Linked DNA regions of Homo sapiens: region 1 is linked to region 2. The links are contacts of gene promoters, found by promoter capture Hi-C in human tissues and cell types (Jung and others, 2019). All regions are on one chromosome and are shown on one strand. Each heading gives the region's core, a stretch centred on a gene start or on the middle of the fragment in contact. The rest is flanking DNA. Distances are from core to core; before and after follow the strand shown.

Region 1 (7,444 bases), core at 404-2,903, 63 kb before region 2:
GTTCCTTGTGTTTAATTTAGGTAACATATCTTCAACAGGAATATCACAGGAGTGATGCTGTGTTCTTCACTGCATGATTTCAAAAGGTACAGAATTTTGATTTGTATCGTTACTGATAATGTTTGATCACTTGATTAAGGTGGTGTTTGCTAGGCTTTTCCTAAGTAAAGTTACTCATTTTCCCTTTGTAATTAGTATTTTTAGGAGACAGGGCTTAGAAACTATACAAATATTGCATTCCTTTTCAGCCTTCCAATGTATTTGTTTACATTAGTATGAACTAATGATTTCTTGTTTTATTCAATGAAATATCATCTTTTATTATTTATTTTGATGCTCAGATTATTCCCGATTTGGCCAGTAAATCAAGAAAAAAAATTATATAAATATATGTTTAATCATAAAAATGCCCAAATAATCTGCCATTCTTTTATTTCAATAGGTTGACAGATAAATACTCCCCAAACTAACACCTTACAGGCAATGGTAGAAAAGAAAAATTCACAACTGTTGTATTCTGGTAACATGCCTGCTTTACCCAGTGTACCCACTCAATGTCTTCTCTAATTTCTACTGTGTAAACTTCTGTCTCTGGGGTTTCCCTCACCAACTAAGCATCTTGTGCCTTCTTTGTCCTTTGATATTTCACTGTTATTCTTTGAGCACTTCCTTTCCTGCACAATAAGATATATTAGACTCATCTAGTACTTTCTCTGCCTCAGTCAATTCTCCAAGGAGCCTTGGTTCCTTTCAATGGAAAATGCAGTATTTAGAAACCAAGAGTAGGCCCTGTTGGGGCTCATTGCAATTGGGTGGGAGTGATCACTGCATCCAGTACTCTTCTCATTCTGTTTGGGTAGCTTCCATTTCTAATTCAATTGAAGTGACTTAATAGAACTGGGTAAAAGTTGATAAGGACACTGAGTTGGTAAGGGAGGTCCCAAAGAGAGAAGAAATTAAAGAGGACAGTGGGCCAGGCACAGTGGCTCACGCCTGTAACCCCAGGAATTTGGGGGGCCGAGGCAGGTGGATCGTTCAGGAGTTCAAGACCAGCCTGGCTAAGATGGTGAAACCCCGTGTGTACTAAGAATACAAAAAATTAGCTGTGCATGGTGGTGGGTGCCTGTAATCCCAGCTACTCATGAGGCTGAGACAGAGAGTTGCTTGAACCCAGGAGGTAGAGGTTGCAATGAGCTGAGATTCCGCCACTGCACACTCCAGCCTGCGTAACAGAGCGAGACTCCATCTCAAAAAAAAAAAAAAGGACACAGAATGAAGAAGATGTGTACCAGTAATAGAAGAATTTTGAACTTTTGTTTTCTACCACTATCCATAAGATTACTTGTCGGGGGGGTGTTAGTTTTTTTTTTTTTTTTTTTTTTTTGAGGTATCTTTGAGATAAAAGAAAGGCAAGGCCGGGCGCTGTGGCTTACATCTGTAATCCCAGCACTTTGGGAGGCCGAGGCAGGCAGGCAGATCACCTGAAATCAGGAGTTCAAGACCAGCCTGGCTAACATGGTGAAACCCCATCTCTACTAAACTAAAAATACAAAAATTAGGTGGGTGTGGTGGCGGGCATCTGTAATCCCAGCTACTCGGGAGGCTGAGGCAGGAGAATTGTTTGAACCTGGGAGGCAGTGGTTATAGTAAGCCAATATTGCATCACTGCGCTCCAGCCTGGATGACAGAGTGAGACTCTGACTCAAAAAACAAAAGTAAATTAATTTTAAAAGGGAGGGCAAATTACAATTATTTGGGCATCTTTAGAGTTACATGTATATTTATTGGATTTTTCCTCCCCGATTAACTCAATGCTAAAATAATGTTGACTTAAATGACTTGTTTGGTGGGACTTAATATGTAGTATAAGATGCATATTTGACAGGTTAGAAGCAGTCACACACTTTGATAAATAACAATACTGAGGCCGGACGCGGTGGCTCATGCCTGTAATCCCAGCACTTTGGGAGGCCGAGGCAGGCAGATTGCCTGAGCTCATGAGTTCCAGACCAGCCTGGGCAACATGGCAAAAACCTGTCTCTATAAAAAACAAAAAAATTAGCCACATGCAATGGTGTGCACCTATAATCCCAGCTACTCAGGAAGCTGAGGCAAGAAGATCCGTTAAGCCTAGAAGTTCAAGGTTGCAGTGAGCTATGATTGCACCACCATACTCCAGCCTGGATGACAGGGTGAGACCTTGTGTCAAAAACAAACAAAAAAGCAATTCTGAATGACTTTTGAATTTCTCAGGTCCACAGAAGGGAGCCAAATAATTCTGCTGATCATTGAGTGAGTTGTGGTACTTTCAACACTTTAGAGGTTTAAAGGACTGCTTTAGGCTGGGTGCGGTGGCTCACGCCTGTAATCCCAGCACTTTGGGAGGCCGAGGCGGGCGGATCACCTGAGGTTGGGAGTTCAAAACTAGCCTGACCAACATGGAGAAACCCCATCTCTACTAAAAATTCAAAATTAGCTGGGTGTGGTGGCACATTCCTGTAATCCTAGCCACTCGGGAGGCTGAGGCAGGAGAATTGCTTGAACCCAGGAGGTGGAGGTTGCGGTGAGCCAAGATCGTGCCATTGCACTCCAGCCTGCAACAAGAGCGAAACTCCGTCTCAAAAAAAAAAAAAAAAAGACTACTTTATTAGTTTTTTATTTGTTTTGCAGACAGTTCCTGAAATGAGGAAGCTTCCTAAAGTGAATTTCAGAATCTTTATCTGTGTGTTTACCCTAGCTATGAAAGTATTATTCTAACAGGGACTGTATATCTGTTTTTCCTTCCTGTAGATTGACCCAGCATTGCAAATTTCATTAGCTAGTTGTGGTCTGCCAGGTGTGGAAGGGGGTGCTCCACCTCTTCCTTTAAGCTTTCAATTCTCGGGCCCCTTTAAGCTTAGCAGCCTCTTGAGCTTTCAGAGACCCTTTAGCTTCAGAAACCTGCTAATTCCTTGGACATGTGGAGCGTGAACCATAAATCTTCAAGTTATAGTGAGTCTCAGTGACAAGCAATGTAAGTGCTTTGATTTTCACTAAGGCTATATAGAAGCCTTTGACAAAGGTTATTACATATCAGGATTCCTCATGGTCCATACTCAGGCTGGGGGAGGAGAAGGAAGGGCCTAAAGGGAATAGAATGCATTAATGTATCAAACTTGTCTTTCTGTATTACCTTATAATCTGCCTTGGCAAGATTGGGAAACTAGCCCTAGATAACAGAAGAATAGAAGATACAGTGGGGGCTGGGCATGGTGGCTCACGCCTGTAATCCCAGCACTTTGGGAGGCCGAGGAGGGTGGATCACGAGGTCAGGAGATCATACCATCCTGGCTAACATGGTGAAACCCCGTCTCTACTAAAAATACAAAAAAATTAGCTGGGCGTGGTTGCGGGCGCCTGTAGTCTCAACTACTCAGGAGGCTGAGGCAGGAGAATGGCGTGAACCCAGGAGGTGGAGGTTGCCGTGAGCGGAGATCGCACCACTGCACTCGAGATCGCGCCACTGCACTCCAGGCTGGGCGACAGAGCGAGACTCTGTCTCAAAAAAAAAAAAAAAAAAAAAAAAAAAATACAGTGAAGGGCAGTGTGTTAGCTATAAGTAAAACTTCATTCTCCCTGCCCTGAATTTACTGTCCTTTCTGAAACTCTTCACTAGCAATGTATGGCAAGGCGTTGTGCACAGAGAACTAGTTCTAAGAAGTTGTCAGACCAAATGGATACATAGTGGGTACATGGCCAAGTACACATGTGAAATCCTTTTTCCCAGAAAATTCAAAATAATATAGGGAGCAGGGAGATGCTTCCTGCTAGAGACCTGGGCGGGCTGTATGATGCCCAGCTTCCAAAAGATGTCACAGCACAAGTGTCCAAATGAAAACTGACTTAGGAAAGGTATGAGTTGAGAGTAGGCTTAAAGTCAGGGTTTACTTCTTACATTCAGGGAGAGAATGAGGATACAAGGGGAAGGGTTTTCTGTGCTAGGATTGCTTGAGAATGAGAGGTAACTATTCCATCATTAGTTGTATTGTGTTTTGATACAGTTTACTCTGTGTGAATAATACAGCTCTCCCCTGGGGGAATAAAAGTCTGACCACTTCAAGCTTTCCTTTGCCTATGTATAGTCATTTTCCCAGCGGATTTACCTTGCTTATAGTTGCTGTCTTATCCTTCACTTTGAAAGGATTTTCACTATGAATTGATTTCAAAGTGTTAGGCTAGCCAAAGCATAAGAATGAGTTACATTGCAAAGTGTTGGCCTAGGAGAGGTGATTCCTCCAATTCATTAGGAAGTCAGTAATTACATGCACACTTAAAAAAAAAAACAAAACCTATGGCCGGGTGTGGTGGCTCACACCTGTAATCCCAGCACTTTGGGAGGCCGAGGTGGATAGATCACGAGGTGAGGAGATCGAGACCATCCTGGCCAACAAGGTGAAACCCCGTCTCTACTAAAAATACAAAAATTAGCTGGGTGTGGTGCCTCACACCTGTAATCCCAGCACTTTGGGAGGCCAAGGCAGGCGGAGAGGAGATCGAGACCATCCTGGCTAACATGGTGAAACCCCGTCTCTACTAAAAATACAAAAAAATTAGCAGGGCATGGTGGCAGGCACCTGTAGTCCCAGCTACTCGGGAGGCTGAGGCAGGAGAATCGTTTGAACCTGGGAGATGGAGTTGCAGTAAGCTGAGATTGCGAGATTGCGTCATTGCACTCCAGCCTAGGCTACAAGAGTGAAACTTTGTCTCAAAAAAAAAAAAAAAATAGCCGGGCATGGTGGCACATGCCTGTAATCTCAGCTACTTGGGAGGCTGAGGCAGGAGAATTGCTTGAACCTGGGAGGCGGAGGTTGCAGTGAGCTGAAATCGTGCCATTGCACTCCAGCCTGGGCAACAAGAGCGAAACTCTGTCTCAAAAATAATATCATCCTCATCCTCATCATCATCATCATCAAAACCACGGCTTAGAATTGTGTGTTTTTGTCGTATATAATAGTGTAATCAGAGGGATATAATATGTGCTTGTTAAACATTGACTAGAGAGGCAGCTATGGAACCGTTCAATGTTTTTCAGACATTTTATCTATGCCCACGATAAAGATTGCATCTCAGTAAACACACACATAGAATATAGATAACAGTCATGAAAAAATAAGTATGCTTACTATTATTTTGTGGCATTTTAAATTCAACACTTTTAAAAGGCTGGTCACAGCCTGCAGATTGGAAAATATTTAATGGAATGATCACATGTCTAGGAACTAAGACAGAGATTCAATACCAGATCCACTGACCCAGCTTTATATCACAGAACAAGTTACTTAATCTTTCTGAGCCTGGGTTTCCTTATCTGTAGAAAGAGAATAATACTTGTTCCATCTAGATTAGGATTGTTTTAAATTTCAAATTAAGGCTGGGCACAGTGGCTCATACCTATAAACCCAGCACTTTGGGAGACTGAGGTGGGAGAATCATTTGAGTCCAGGAGTTTAAGACCAGCCTGGGAAACATAGTGAGACCCCATCTCTACATAAAGGAAAAAAAAAAAAATAGCTGGGCATGGTGGCTCACACCTGTAGTCCCACCTACTCAGAAGGCTGAGGTGGGAGGATCACTTGAGCCCGGGAGGTTGAGGCTTCAATGAGCCGTGTTTCACGCCATTGGATATTGAAGCCTGGGTGACAGAGCAGCTCACTGCAACCTCCATCTCCTGGGTTCAAGCAATTCTCCTGCCTCAGCCTCCTGAGTAGCTTTGATTACAGGTCCCTGCCACCACGCCCAGCTAATTTTTTGTATTTTTAGTAGAGACGGGGTTTCATTGTGTTAGCCAGGATGGTCTCGATCTCCTGATCCGCCCACCTCAGCCTCCCAGAGTGCTGGGATTACAGGCGTGAGCCACCGCGCCCAGTGAAAAGTAATAGTAATGATTATTGCCTTTTTTTTTTTTTTTTTTTTTTTTTTTTTTTTTTTTTTTTAAGAGAGGGGATCTTACTCTGTTGTTGCCCAGGCTGGAGTACAGTGGATATTCACAGGTGTCACTATGGCACACTGCAAGCTCAGGCTCCTGAGCTCCAGCAATTCTGTCCTCTCAGCCTCCTAAGTCGTTGGGACTATAAGTTTATGCCACCACACTTGGCTAATTTTTTAAAAGTTTTTAAAGAGTTGGAATTTTACTGCGTTGCCCATGCTGGTCTTAAATTCCTGGCCTCAAGCAGTCTTCCTACCTCAGCCTCCTGAGTAGCTGGGATTACAGATGTGAGCCACTGTGCCCCACAAGAGCCAACATGTAAATAATGTTTACTGTGTATCAGGCACCTAAGCACTGGAATATGTTAAACCCAAATTTAATCTTCAAAATAATCTCGGCCAGGTGTGGTGGTGGCTCACACCTGTAATCCTAGCACTTTGGGAGGCCGAGGCGGGTGGATCACCTGAGGTTAAGAGTTCGAGACCAGCCTGGCCAACATGGTGAAACCCCATCTCTACTAAAAATACAAAAAATTAACCAGGCGTGGTGGCAGGAGCCTGTAACCCCAGCTACTTGGGAGCCTGAGGCAGGAGAATCGCTTGAACCCAGGAGGAAGAGGTTGCAGTGAGCCGAGATTGTGCCACTGCACTACAGCCAGGGCAAGAGAGTGAGACTCAGCCTCAAAAAAGTCTGGGCGCAGTGGCTCATACCTATAATCCTAGCAGTTTGGGAGGCCGAGGCAGGTGGATCATTTGAGGCCAGGAGTTCAAGACCAGCCTGGCCAACATGGTGAAACCCTGTCTCTACTAAAGATACAAAAAATTAGCTGGATGCACTGGTGCGTGCCTGTAATCCCAGCTAGGGAGGCTGAAGCAGGAGAATCCCTTGAACCTGGGAAGCGGAGGTTGCAGTGAGCCAAGATTTTGCCACTGCACTCCAGCCTGGGCGACAGAGCGAGACTTTGTTTAAAAAAAAAAAAAAAAATCTCATGAAGGTAGGGTACATTTTATAAATGGTGGTAAACTATGTTCCCAAGGTCACACAGCTGGTAAATGCAAAGAGCTGGGATTCAAATTTAGTCAGTGTGCTTCCAGTGTTCTCTTACCCACTTCTGTGTAGTGCCTTTTTGTTAATCTCAGGTTTCTTGAGGTGATCTGAGCTTCAGTTGACATTTACCCGTGGATATTCCCCTTTTGAAAACTTCTCCAAGAATGACTTGTCCTTGCTACCACATCTTTTTCCTGGGTTACTTCCTGGCTCTGTCAATTTTATGTTTCTGTAATCCAAATTAGGAGAAACTAATTTGTATGTTATCCTAAACTAGACAGTCTAGGAATGAGTTTGTTTTTTTTTTTTTTTTTGAGACAGGGTCTCGCTCTGTCACCCACGCTGGAGTGCAGTGGCACGATCTTGGCTCACTGCAAGCTCCGCCTCCTGGGTTGACACCATTCTTCTGCCTCAGCCTCCCAAGTAGCTGGG
Region 2 (6,761 bases), core at 3,859-6,358:
GTCTCGATCTCTTGACCTCGTGACCTGCCCGCCTCGGCCTCCCAAAGTGCTGGGATTACAGGCATGACCCCCACGCCCGGCCTTTTTGTTTTTATTTTTTTTTGAGACAGAGTTTCACTCTTGTTGCCTAGGCTGTAGTGCAATGGCACAGTCTCAGCTCACTGCAACCTCTGCCTTCCAGGTTCAAGCGATTCTCCTGACTCAGCCTCCCAAGTAGCCGTCACAACACCCAGCTAAATTTTGTATTTTTAGTAGAGATGGGGTTTCACTGTGTTGGCCAGGCTGGTCTCGAACTCTTGACCTCAGGTGATCCAACCACCTCGGCCTCCCAAAGTGCTAGAATTACAGGCCTGAGCCACCGTGCCCGGCCCCTTCTTTCTTTCCTTTCTTTCTTTTTTTCTTGTATTATTTCTTTTTTTAGATAGGTTCTCACTCTGTCAACCAAGTTGAAGTGCAGGGGTCTCATCTCAGCTTACTACAGCCTCCACCTCCCATGCTCAAGTGATCCTCCCACCTCAGCCTCCTGAGTAGTTGGGACTACAGGCACATGCCAATGCCACCATACCTGGCTAATTTTTTTATTTTTTTGTAGACAGGGGGACTCATTGTGTTGCCCAGGCTGGTCTCTAACTCCTAAGCTCAAGCAATTGCCCATCTCGGCCTCCCAAAGTGCTAGGATTATAGGCGTGAGCCACTGCACCCTGCCCCTTTTCAGAAAACTCTGCCAAGTCTCAGGATCACTCTTCCTCTTTAAAACCCTTCCTGGTGGCTGGGAGTGGTGGCTCACGCCTGTAATCCCAACACTTTGGGAGGCAGAAGCAGGTGGATCGCCTGAGGTCAGGAGTTCGAGACCAGGCTGGCCAACATGGTGAAACCCTGTCTCTACTAAAAATACAAAAAATTAGCCAGGCATGGTGGCACACGCCTGTAAGGCTGAGGCAGGAGAATTGCTTGAACCCGGGAGGCGGGGCTTGCAGTAAGCCAAGATGGTGCCATTGCACTCCAGCCTGGGCAACAGAGGAGACTCTGTCTCACAAAAAAAAAAAAAAAAAAAAAAAAAAAATTAGCCGGTTGTTGTGGCGTGTGCCTGTAGTCCCAGCTACTCAGGATGCTGAGGCAGGAGAATTGCGTGAACCCGGGAGGCGGAGATTGCAGTGAACTGAGATTGCCACTACACTCCAGCCTGAGCGACAGTGCAAGACTCCGTCTCAAAAACAAAAACAAAAACAAAACAAAACCGTTTGTGGCAAATGAACCTTTTATCTCAGGTTATCAGGCCATAATCTAGTCCCCGCCCTCGACAATTACATTTTATACCATTCTCTACCTTGCCCACTACATTCCAACTATTACTAGTCTTTCTCGGTTTCTTGAATGCTCTGTTTTCCCATGTGAGACATTTCACATACGCTATTTCCTTTGCCTGAAAAGTTCTCCCTTCACCTGCAGACTACTGGTCCTCATTCCTCAAGTCTTGGCCTTAAATCTCACTTCTGGCCTGTCGCGGTGGCTCACGCCTGTAATTCCAGCACTTAGGGAGGCCGGCGCGGGCGGATCACCTGAGGTCAGGAATTTGAGACCAGCCTGGCCAACATGGCGAAACCCCATCTGTACTAAAAACACAAAAAATATTAGCTGGGCATGGTGGCGCGTGCCTGTAGTCCCAGCTACTCGGGAGGCTGAGGCAGGAGAAGCGCTTGAACCAGGGAGGCAGAGGTTGCAGTGAGCTGAGATAGTGCCACTGCACTCGAGATCGCGCCACTGCGACAGAGTGAGACTGCCTCAAAAAAAAAAAAAAAAAAAAAAAATCCAAAAAATTTAGCCGGGCATGGTGGCGCACGCCTGTAATCCTAGCTACTCGGGAGGCTGAGGCACAACGATTGCTTGAACCCAGGAGGTGGTGGTTGCAGTGTGCCAAGATCGTGCCACTGAACTCCAGCCGGGGTGACAGAGGGAGACTCTGTCTTAAAAATCAATCAAGCAAGCAAGCAATCTCCCTTCTCAGAGAATTCTTCCTTGACCATCTCATATAAGTATTCTCACTGGTAATGTACTCTATCCTCACAACCTGCTAATAACACTTCATAACTGCTATAACTTCTTACTTCATAATGTTTTGTTTATTGTATAACTTTCCCACAGTCAGTAAGTTCCAAGAGGGAAAAGACCACGCCCGTTCCGGTTCTAACTATATACCCAGCGGCCAAAGCCTGACATACATAGCTGGCACTCAGTATTTGTTGAACGAATGAATAAAGAAGCTAACATAACTCAGTGGGCGGAGCAATGGGCCTGTCAGGGGCGTGGCCTCCGTAGAGGCGGAGTCTCCCCGGGGGACTGGGACCGGAAGCTTGGGCGGGGCTTCCCAGAGTGGCGCTCACGCCTTGGGGCGGGATTAGGCGGGCGGCGACTTCGCGGGCGGAATTGGGGCTTATTTTCCCTATCCCCTAGCAGTTTCCTCCCCCAGAGCCCTGGCTCACCCGAAGGCACCTCTCCCCACCACTCGGATCCGCTCGTACTTCTCCATCTCATTTCTTAGAGTTTCACTTCCGTCCCCCACGCGGCGCGTGCGCGGACCCACCCACTCTGGGCCCCGCCCCTTCACGGCGAGCGGCTTGCGGGGCGGAGCCAGCGCCCTAGGTGTGGGTTCCGCCACGCGTCCGTATTTGTGGGCCTGCACCACACACCTCCCGCTGCGACACGCCGTCACTTTTCCCCTCACGACCCTGCCCCACGCAGTGTCCAAGAATAGGGCAAGAAAATAGGGCGCGCCCGCAATGGCGGGCACGGTACCCGCCCCTCCCACACATATACCCAGCCCTTGTAAAGCTTGCTAGACTAAAAGGATGTCGCGTTCCCGAGAGTTAAACCCCACAGGCCGGGAAGGGGTGGGAAGAGAAGATTGACCCCCTTCTTGCCCACGAGTGACGCTATTTCAGGAGAAAGCGGGTTCTCCTTGGCACGCAAACGATAAACACACCCAAAACGACCGAGACCAGCGCTCCTGGGAGAAGGCAGCAGGGTTGGTTTCGTGTTTGCCTGGGGAGGGACGGGGGAAATCCCAAGTCGTGCAAGTTGATTCACCTGAAGAGGACATGACACGGTCTCGGGCCGTCCCGACTAGTGAGCGCCGCGCTCGTCAGCACTCTCAACTCCCCTTTCACACACGCGCTGCAGGAGGGTAATCTGCCCTCAGTGCTCATCTTCCCATGGGGGAAGATGGGGGCGGTAGTGGGTCAGTACCTGAAAGCATCAAGGGGAGAAGGAAAGACCGCGGTTTCGCCGAAATGAGCTCAAGGCAAAAGCCTAGAGGCAGGGGGCTGGTTAGTGTGACCAGCTAGGCTCTTTACCGGAAGTGAGGTTAATTCCAGGTTCTCCCGGGCTCCTGCTCTGCGGGAGCTCTAGAAAAACTCAGTATTCGGCCAGGCGCGGTGGCTCACGCCTGTAATTCCAGCACTTTGGGGAGGCCGAGGCGGGCGGATCACCTGAGGTCAGGAGTTTGAGACCAACCTGGCCAACATGGTAAAACCTCGTCTCTACTAAAAATACAAAAATTAGTTGGGCACGGTGGCGCGCGCTTGTAATCCCAGCTACTCGGGAGGCTGAGGCAGGAGAATCGCTTGAATCTGGGAGGCGGAGGTTGCAGTGAGCCGAGATCGTGCCATTGCACTCCAGCCTGGGCGATAGAGTGAGCCTCCATCTCAAAAAAAAAAAAAGAAAGAAAGAAAACATCAGTATTCAGGAGGAGGATGGTCACTAGCTGAAGGTTAGCGTCCCTGTATCAGAGTGGGCAAGGGGTGTGAGGAAAGGGGCGTTTTATCTTCTGCCCCTGTCCTGGCTCTCGCAAGGGTATCCAAACCCACCCACGTGGAATGACTGCTGGAAGGGCGCTGGCTCAGGCCGGTGTCGGCCGGCGGACAGAGCAGCTCTGTGAGCCAAGGGGAGGGGCGGGAAAGCCGCTCACCCAGGACACCCGTGTTCTCACCTAGAAACCGACTGGGCTTTGGTTGACTTAAGAGTCCCACAGGGGTTAATGTGTAACCTTGGAGCCATAGGGGAGGAAAACACTCAAACGGCTTGGTCCCTGGGTCCTTGCGCCTCAGGTTTTCTCGGCTTCTTCCTCCCGCCCGCAGCACCTTTCCCCTCCCCCGCTTCTTCCCGCCCCTCCTCTATTACTACCCTCTTCTCCCTCCCCGCTCTCATCTCCGCTTAACTTCCCTCGCTGGCTCTCAGCTGCTCCTCCTTTCGCCCAGAGTTTATACCTAAACTCTCCCCGAAAGCAGCTGCCTCGCTCGGAGGCGGGAGGGGGAGCCCGCGCCACAGTGAGGGCAGGCTGACACCTAGTGGCTAGGAGCCGCAACTGCTGCAAGCTACCGGCTTGGAGAGCGCGGGTCACTCCAGCTGTCCCGGCAAATCGGAGGTCTTGCTTGCCCAGCCTCCGGGGAGCCGGGCCGAGGGCCGGGACTGTCTGAGGGAGGACTGTGACAGCCGCCCGGCCCCAGGAGTTTAAGAGCCGGCGGGAAGAGGTGGCGATGGGTTACTCAGCAGTTCCCAAGTGCCCACCTCGCGGGCGCGGGAGGGACAGGTAAACACGGGACTCCGGCCAGAAGACTGCGAGTGGTGCGGTAGGGGCACTGGGTCTGCACGGAGACCACTGTCGGACGCGGGGCTCCGGAGCCCACCCCAGGACCAGGACTTAGGGGGCGTGGGCGTGTCGGGTCCCGTCCAGCTCTGCGCAGAAAGTAGAGGGCGGAGAGAGCTCTCGCGGTACCCGCCCAGGGCGGGGTAGCCGGTGGCCCGGGGAAAAGTGGGGACGCGGGTTAATGAGGCCAGGCGAGCGAGGGCAGCGGGGACTCCGTCGGCAGTCGGGAGGCGCCAGCGAGGGGTGTCTCGGCGACGACGCCCCCAGCACAGCTCCTAGTTACCCGAAGTCCGCGGGAGCCGGCCGGTGGCCGAGAGGCCACGGGGACACCCGGCTCGCGCGGCAGCAGCGCCTGAGGGGCGGGGGCAGGCGGACGGGGCGGGGGCAGGCGGGCGGGGCGGGGGCGCGGGCGGCTGGGGGCGGGGGCAGAGGCCTCGCAGGGAGGGCGAGGAGGAGCCAAGGGGCCTAGAGGGCTTCGCCAACTGTGTGGGGCTGGCGGCCGGCGGGAGAGGCGGCCGGCCTGGACTGGCCCGAGAGGGATCCCGGTTCCCAGAACAGACCTAGGAGGCGGCCTCGAGGGCGGACGGCAGGGAGGGCCAGCATGCCCCGACTGCTGCACCCCGCCCTGCCGCTGCTCCTGGGCGCCACGCTGACCTTCCGGGCGCTCCGGCGCGCGCTCTGTCGCCTGCCCCTACCCGTGCACGTGCGCGCCGACCCCCTGCGCACCTGGCGCTGGCACAACCTGCTCGTCTCCTTCGCTCACTCCATTGTGTCGGGGATCTGGGCACTGCTGTGGTGAGTGAGCGACTGTGGAAATGAGGTGGCCAGGGGATCCTGAGCGGGGAGCCGGGGCCGGCTCTTGTGTTACTACCCCCATCGCTCACTGGCGGGCTGAGGCCACGCAGTCTCACCTGATCCCGTTTGGTATCCTATCCAACCAAAAGCCGCAGTGGCCCCAGGGGAGGGGGATCGCCCCTGGGAAACTGGAGGCTCTTGGGTTTTGCCCAGCCACTCTTAGCTTCCCAGTCAGCCACTAGCGCGAGCCCAGGATCCCCCGGGGCTGCGAAGGGTAACCGAGAAGTTGATGGTCCTTGAGGGTGCCGAAATGCAGAGCCTCCTCTTCCCTCCTTTCCAGTGTATGGCAGACTCCTGACATGTTAGTGGAGATTGAGACGGCGTGGTCACTTTCTGGCTATTTGCTCGTTTGCTTCTCTGCGGGTAGGTCTTGCCCAGGAAGCGGGAGGCAAATTGGGGACAGGGAGAAGGAAGCTGCTTGTTCAGTTCATGATCTCTTGCCCCATCCCTCCACTAGGGTATTTCATCCACGATACGGTGGACATCGTGGCTAGCGGACAGACGCGAGCCTCTTGGGAATACCTTGTCCATCACGTCATGGTAAGAGAGAAGCAGACTATGTGGTATAGGCCTGGTGTCAGTAATCTAGTCTCAGCTCCGTCTTTCTGAATCTGGGAGAAGGCCGTGTTTTCTTACCACCCACCCCCGACCTGTGTGCTACTTCTTATGCTAGGATGCTGGAGGTTGGCAGTCTGTACTTGTTCACTGAGGCCAGCAACCCATGGTTTCACTGCCTCTTTAGACTGAACATCACCCACAGCCAGCTGTGAGCAGCAATCAAAATCTAGTAATGTTGAACTAACAAAACAAAGCATCTTACCCACTATAAACTATTATTCCAGGGGGAAATTTGGGATTTTCCAGCCCTCAATCTGATAGCCACACCCCCCAAACTTCCAGGAAAGCGTCTGCATCTGGGTTCCCTAACTCCTATTCTTTCTTCCCTCTAGGCCATGGGTGCCTTCTTCTCCGGCATCTTTTGGAGCAGCTTTGTCGGTGGGGGTGTCTTAACACTACTGGTGGAAGTCAGCAACATCTTCCTCACCATTCGCATGATGATGAAAATCAGTAATGCCCAGGATCATCTCCTCTACCGGGTTAACAAGTATGTGAACCTGGTCATGTACTTTCTCTTCCGCCTGGCCCCTCAGGCCTACCTCACCCATTTCTTCTTGCGTTATGTGAACCAGAGGACCCTGGGCACCTTCCTGCTGGGTATCCTGCTCATGCTGGACGTGATGATCATAATCTACTTTTCCCGCCT

Evidence for each region. Contacts are between HindIII fragments. The study calls those that stand out against the background at their distance.
Region 1: a fragment that was not itself captured here is called in contact with the fragment with the promoter of TLCD1 in region 2 in 5 of the 25 tissues and cell types used here (aorta, hippocampus, mesenchymal stem cells and 2 more).

What each region holds. Positions count from the first base shown.
Region 1 is chr17:28,783,020-28,790,463 of GRCh38, reverse strand. All of the region lies in intron 1 of FAM222B (family with sequence similarity 222 member B), which reads left to right. LOC124903965 (a long non-coding RNA gene) reads right to left here. Exons shown (of 3, transcript XR_007065689.1): 3 at 6,913-7,241. Among named protein-coding and RNA genes, the nearest start is that of TRAF4, 43 kb to the right of the region's middle. The HindIII fragment of the contact is 3,691 bases long and covers 1-3,498 here.
Region 2 is chr17:28,724,580-28,731,340 of GRCh38, reverse strand. It overlaps TLCD1 (TLC domain containing 1), which reads left to right and starts at 5,108. Exons shown (of 4, transcript NM_138463.4): 1 at 5,108-5,437; 2 at 5,778-5,860; 3 at 5,955-6,037; 4 at 6,448-6,761. The coding sequence starts at 5,244. NEK8 (NIMA related kinase 8) reads right to left here and starts at 2,553. Exons shown (of 15, transcript NM_178170.3): 1 at 2,481-2,553. The coding sequence starts at 2,527. RefSeq lists enhancers at 4,125-4,848, 4,849-5,572, 5,740-5,789, 5,910-6,209, 5,573-6,296 and 3 more and a silencer at 4,800-5,329. The HindIII fragment of the contact is 6,466 bases long and covers 2,591-6,761 here.